Linked DNA regions of Homo sapiens: region 2 is linked to region 1. Evidence: promoter capture Hi-C in 16 types of primary human blood cells and fetal thymus (Javierre and others, 2016). All regions are on one chromosome and are shown on one strand. Each heading gives the region's core, a stretch centred on a gene start or on the middle of the fragment in contact. The rest is flanking DNA. Distances are from core to core; before and after follow the strand shown. Region 1 holds the start of OR10H1 (olfactory receptor family 10 subfamily H member 1). Region 2 overlaps LINC00905 (long intergenic non-protein coding RNA 905).

Region 1 (3,248 bases), core at 26-2,525:
TTCTCATCCCCAGCTCCTAACCATTCCCTCACCACCTGCTCCCATTGACGCCTCCCTTGTGTGTGTGTGTGTGTGTGTGTGTGTGTGTGTGTGAGAGAGAGAGAGAGAGAGAGAGAGAGAGAGAGAGAGAGAGAGAGAGAGAGAGACAGGGTATCCCTCTGTCACCCAGGCTGGAGTGCAGAGGCACAATCACAGCTCACTGCAGCCTTAACTTCCTGGGCTCAAGCAATCCTCCCACCTCAATCTCTGGAGTAGCTACAGGTGCCTGCCATTCCTGGCCAATTTTTGTATTTTTTTGTACAGACAGGGTCTCACTATGCTGCCCAGGCTGGCCTCAAACTCTTGGACTCAAGTGATCCTCCCACCTTGGCCTCCCAAAGTGCTGGGATTGCAGGCATGAGCCACTGCACCCGGCCCACCCTGATTCTTTACACCCTGGGGTGGTGGCTGGAGCTTCTGAACCCTGAATCCTCTTTCTCTCTTTTCTCCGCCTCTTCCCAATCCTTTTTCCGTAGACTTCTTGCCTGGACAGACCGAGAAGAGAGGTTAAAATCAAACCATCACCTTGGGTCACATTGAGCATTGGCTGTCTTCTCTCTGCACCTGTTACCTCCCCCATCCAAGGGACCTACCTCATGAGGCAGCAGGAGCTCTAAAGAAGGCAAGTCCTGGCTGGGCACGATGGCTCATGCCTGTAATCCCAGTACTTTGGGAAGCCGAGGCGGGTGGATCACGAGATCAGGAGTTCAAGACCAGCCTGTCCAGCATGGTGAAACCCCTGTCTCTACTAAAAATACAAAAAATTAGCCAGGCATGGTGGCACGCACCTGTAGTCCCAGCTACTCAGGAGGCTGAGGGAGAAGAATCGCTTGAACCTGGCAGGCGGAGGTTGCAGTGAGCCGAGATTGCGCCACTGCACTCCAGCCTGGGCTACAGAGCGAGATTCCGTCTCAAAAAAAAAAAAAAAAAAATAGAAGAAGGTAAGTCCTGCTAAGCAAACAGCACACTGACTAAGACGTGGTGAGTGGCCTCTGCCTGTCACCCACTGCCCTGTAGACTCACATTGCTAAAGGAGTAATATAAACAGGTGGTTTCTTGGAGTCCCTGGCAGGTGCTGGTTCCCCAGGTCTCTCCTGGTCAGGTGGCTGAGAGGGGAGGTGACTCACCTGGGACTCCAGGCATCTGCTTCTGCTTCATCCCAGTAGGAGGCTCTAGTTTGGAGTTTCTCCACAGGTGGGAGCTGACCAGGTGTGGGCTGCACCAAGCAGCCACACCAGCTGAGCCGGGGGCTTGACTGAGCCCAAATGCGATTATTTATCCCTCCCTGACTCCCTGCCCACCGGCTTCCCTCGCTGTGGTCCTACTGTCTCTGTCTCCGCTACAGGGATGCTGGGACCCCAGGGACCCTGCCAGAGAGGAGGCAACCTCAGGGAATCTGTATCCTCACTTTCCCATTCCCCCCGCCTGCCAGGGGTGAGTCAATTCCCTGAGCTTGTCAAGAGCTTGAGCAGAGTCTAGTGCTCTACAGATTTGGGGTTTGGGCCCATGACTGTTGAAATTGACAGGAGGGCAGCCCTGCCATTGCCCCCAGGGACTGCAGAGGCTGCCTTGATATGCCCCGTCACCTTCATTCTTCTCCAACTGGGTCATTTGCCCAACTAAATGTCCTTTAAAATAATTTTTTAAAACCAACACACACACACGTATTTGTTTTTATTTTTATTTTTTGAGACAGGGTCTAGCTCTGTTGCCCAGGCTGGAGTGCAGTGGTGTGATTATGGCTCACTGCAGCCTCAACCTCCCAGGCTCAAATGATTCTCCTGCCTCAGCCTCCTGAGCAGCTGGGAGTAAAGGTGCTTGCCACCACACCTGGGCTAAGTTTTAATTTTTCTGTAGAGATGGGGTCTCGCTTTGTTGCCCAGGCTGGTCTTGAGCTCCTTGGCTCAAGGGATCCTCCCACCTTGACCTCTCAAAGTGCTGGGATTACAGCTGTGAGCCACCATGCCTGGCCTGTTTCTTCTTATTATGTAATTGAAATGCTACATACAAAGCAGCAAACCATGCAATGGCCAGCCAGGCAATCGTGACGGTGAATTTAATGGGTATCCCTTCAGATCTTCATGAGCATGTAGGATGTGAAAACAATGCAAACCCATAAAATCAGAGTTCTGTTGTGCATTATTGTTGCTTTCGCTTCGTTCTGCTTTTGAGGTGAAATTCACATAAAATAATCAACCACTTTAAAGTATACAATTCCCTGGGATTGAATGCATTCACAATGTTGTGTGGCCGCCGCCTCTGTCTAGTTCCAAAATGTTTTCATCACCTAATACCCATTAGCAGCCACTCCCCTACCCCACCCAGTCCTTCAAAACCACCAATTTGTTTTCTGGCTCTGGCTCTATGGACTTACCTATTCTAGACATTTCATATAAATGGGACTATATACTACTATATATAACGATGCATTATGATTGCCCCTGTGAGTAGCCACGGCACTCCAGCCATTTTGTCAACACAAAAATGTCGACATTGCCAAGACTGAGAAACTTTGGTCTGCATAAACTCACACAGAGTTCACTCTAAGACGCTGAGTGAAAAACCAAGTTACGGAAAGATATCTACGGGAGAATCAGATCTGCATTTTAAAAACACACAAAATGGTTTGACAGTTTATCAAAAAGTTAACATAGAAATTATCAAAGGACTCAGCAATTTCACTCCTAGGTATACACCCAAAAGAATGGAAAAGGATTCAAACAAATCCTTGGACATCAAATGTGCATAGCAGCACTGTTCACAGTAGCCAAACGGTATTTTTTAATTTTTCTGTAGAGAGTAGGATTTCACTTTGTTTCTCAGGCTGCTCTTGGAACTCCTGGGCTTAAGCGATTCTCCTGCCTTGACCTCCCAAAGTGCTTGGATTGCAGGTGTGAGCCACTGGACATGGCCTGATCCAAACGTCTATCAATGGCAGATCCAAATGTCTATTAATAAATAAATGGATAAACAAAGTGTGGTATAATCATATAATGGCTATTATTCAGCCACAGAAAGGAATAACATCCCAGTCCAGGCCACAGTAGAGATGAACGTTGAAAACATGTGCTATGTGAAAGGAGCTAGGCTTTTAATTTTATGGATAATTCCATACAAATGATATCTCTTTGATACACTGATTTCTTTTCTTTGGAGTATATACTTAAGTAGTGGCATTTCTGGATCATATGATAGCTCTATGTTTAGTT
Region 2 (3,343 bases), core at 747-3,246, 220 kb after region 1:
AGACCCAAAAGTGCGTGAGAACCACATCGTCCTCCAGGGCCCAGGCCTGGGAGAACGTCTCCTGAACCAATCCTTATAGTCCAGACTGGGACATATTCATGAGGCACTCTAGGGACAAGGGGGTAGCATGGAAGGGGTCGGTGCCCACACCCAGGTTTCCACCACAGCTACCTCCCACTGGGAGGTTCTGGGTCCTTTTGCAGCCACCCCTGGCTTCCAGCTGTGCACAGGAGGCCATGGCCAGGGGGAGGCCTGGGTGAGGAGGTGCCCACCACACTCCTGCCTTTGATCTGGGTCTTGTCAAGGTGGGCTCCTTGTCTGGGAGGACTCAGTGTCCTGCTCAGCACAACAGGCCCAGCCTGGCCCTCCAGACTGAAGCAAAGGGTCATGGGGACAGTGTGAGGGTGCTGTCCCTGGGCCAGTCCAGGTCTGTCCTGGGGAGTGGGGCTGGGGGTCTTCCTGGCATGTTCCTGGAACAGAGTCACTGTGAGGATGAACAGGATGACTGTCTGCCTGGTCAGCACAGAACGGGCACCCAGTGAGCACTCGAGGATGACCCTCCTCGGGCAGCTGCCGCCCACCCAGTAGCGACTGTCCCCAAGTCAGCAGGGAGGGAAGAGAGCAGGTCACGCTCTCCTAAGTCTGATCAAGCAGCCGTGCAGAGATGTGCCTCTCACCTAGAAAAGAGAAAAGCGTCCTTTGGGCAGAACCCACTCACACTGTGTCTCCAACTGCTCTACGACACAGAGCCGGGCAGGTACCTGGGTGTTGGGTAATGGTGACATTGTGGGCTCACGGCACCCATCACAACGGAGCCCTGCATGGGTCAGCAGGGCCCAGAGACGGCATCCTCTGCCCCTCCTGAACTGTCGACGTGTGCGTGCAATGCGTCTGTGCACTTGAGTGCAGGTGGATATGTGCGGGTGCGTGTGAGCGTGTGTCTCTCCTCCGGCCGGCCCTGGCTTCCCCAATCACGTGTGCCCCCATGTCCTCATCACTGTCACCCCAGGGCCTGTGGTCAGCATCAGAGCATCCACAGGTGCGCCCCAGCCTCTGCCTTCAGGCAGGGTGGTCCTGGGGATGCAGGCAGGGCAGGGCAGTGCCGTGGGTGAAACCCCCTCCCTCGGGAGGGACTCAGTGTATACGGTACTAAATCTGCATAGCAGGGCCATATTCAATGCACTTCTCCTCCTCCCAGTAGCTCTCTGGGGTGCAGTTGATTTCATCTCCCCTACAAATGGAAGAAAGGAGGCTTCTAGGACAAACCCCCTGCCTGAGGTCACCCAGCAGCCAGCTGACCTCGTCCTTACTAAGTCCCCACTAACCAGGCCCCCACTCACCAGGTCCCCACCCACCAGGTCCTGTTGACTAAGCCGGACTGATCGTGTTCTGTGCTGACCAAGCCCTGCAGACTGGGTCCCACTGATCAGTCCCCCCCAGTGACCAAGCCACCACTGACCCGGTCCCCCGTGACCATCTACCCACAGACAAGGGCCCATCTTCTTAAGTCAACCCATCTAAGAAAATGGGTTTGGCCCCAGACCAAAGCCATTTTCTTAAGTTCCATGGAGCTCACTAGGGTATAAAGCCAAGTGGGGAGAGGCTAAGCTTCAGAATCTGGACGTTTTCAACATTTCCAGGTATTTCCACATTCTTCACAGTGATTTCACCAATGTGCTCTCCCACCATTGAGGGTTTCTACCTGCCTCCAAAACTGCTGGTGTTGCCAGACTTTTCATTTATGTTGGGTGTTGGGTTTGAAATGCCTCATGGTGGCTTCTTGTTCCTCATGACTGGTGAGGTTGGGTGCCCTTGTATTTTAATCCTGTGCCAACTGGGCCCCCCCACCCCCACCCCCGCCACTTGCTGTCTCTGCTTCGTAAGGAGATCTTCTTGCCCGGTCAACTCCGAGGGATCACAGGTTCAGGGGTGCCCCCAAAATGAGACACTTAGTGTTTGATGAATGAATGATGATGTTGAGGCCAGGAGTGAGAGGAAGGTCAGCAGGCAGACAGGGCCCATGTGGACAGAAAGGGTTTATTCCAAGTCCAGACATGACCAATAGCGATAAAAAGGGGGAACAATTGGAGTAATCCATGGGAGAAGGAGTGAGCCTGAATTTGAAAGATGGAGAGAACTGGACGTGGAGGAGGGGAGGGAGGAAGGCAGAACAAAGGAAATAAGAAGCTGTTGACCAAAATACATATGTTGTGATTCCATGCATATGATCAAAACGTGATCGTGTAATCATGCACATTTCTCAAATTCAAATGGACAAGGTATACATAATTTTTCCCATTCCTCCCACGAAGCACAACTAAAACCCTGGGCCAGACATCATACATAAAAACATAAGACTCTGAATAAGATTCAGCCTTTAAAAACAAAGCTTGTGTTTACGTGGATGAACCCGGAAGACGTTCAGTGAAATAAGCCAGGCACAGAAAAACAAATACTTCCTGTCTCACTTGTGGAATCTAAAAAGCTGAACTCCCAAGTAGAATGGTGGCTCCAGGGACTGAGGGAGGGAGGAGGGACTGAACAGATATTGGCCAAAGGGCACAAGAGGAATTGTTCAACATGGTGACTCTAGTCAATGTATTTTATTCTTGAAAAATGCTGAGTAGTCTGGGCGCAGTGGCTCACACCTGTAATCCTAGCACGCTGGGAGACTGAGGGGGATCACTTGAGGCCAGGTGTTTGAGACCAGCCTGGGCGACATAGTGAGACCTCATCTCTTTTTTTTTTTTTTTTTTTTTCAATATAAAAAAACTGAATTGCTGAGCAAATTTTAAGTGTTCTTACCACAGAAAAAGAGATAAGCATGGAGGTATGGTCACGGGTATGTCAAGGAAATGTTAAATTAGCTTGATTTAGATATTTTACGCTGTACGCCTATGTCAAAACATGTTCTATGCATCATATTTACAACTTTGTCAAAATAAAAAGTGATTGGGAAATTGGATCAAACTAGAAAAATGTAAGACTCTGAATGATGGAGGGAAGGCAGACACAGTGGGAATTTCAGGACCCAAGGAATGACACGAAAGTCAATTCTTTGGTGTTTTGTTTTGTTTTTCGCCACATACAGCCCAGGCTTGGACCTGAAGAAGCTGGCAACCCGCGAACGCCAACAGGCACAGTCGAAAAAAGCAAAAGAAAAATCCCAAACAAAATCCTGTTCTCCCTAGCCAAAGGACCAGGAGAGGGGGCAGCCCAGCAAGACAAAACACATTTACACAATTCTGGCTAACCTCAGCCAGTCCTTGGCCGTGAGTTCGTTTTTCTGCCACCTCACTTTGGGGCTGGGCTGGTTCTCCACCCTCGCAGGGTGCGTTTCTCA

What was found. Contacts are between HindIII fragments. The CHiCAGO score rates a contact against its expected background, and 5 or more counts as called.
Region 2: a contact is called between a fragment that was not itself captured here and the fragment with the promoter of OR10H1 in region 1, in 2 of 17 cell types (naive CD8 T cells and naive CD4 T cells). The highest score is 5.5, in naive CD8 T cells.

The regions. Positions count from the first base shown.
Region 1 is chr19:15,814,389-15,817,636 of GRCh38, forward strand. OR10H1 (olfactory receptor family 10 subfamily H member 1) reads right to left here and starts at 1,276. Exons shown (of 4, transcript NM_013940.4): 1 at 1,167-1,276. The HindIII fragment of the contact is 16,264 bases long and covers 1-3,248 here.
Region 2 is chr19:16,038,348-16,041,690 of GRCh38, forward strand. It overlaps LINC00905 (long intergenic non-protein coding RNA 905), which reads left to right. Exons shown (of 5, transcript NR_024335.2): 5 at 3,092-3,343. Among named protein-coding and RNA genes, the nearest start is that of LINC00905, 6.3 kb to the left of the region's middle. The HindIII fragment of the contact is 781 bases long and covers 1,607-2,387 here.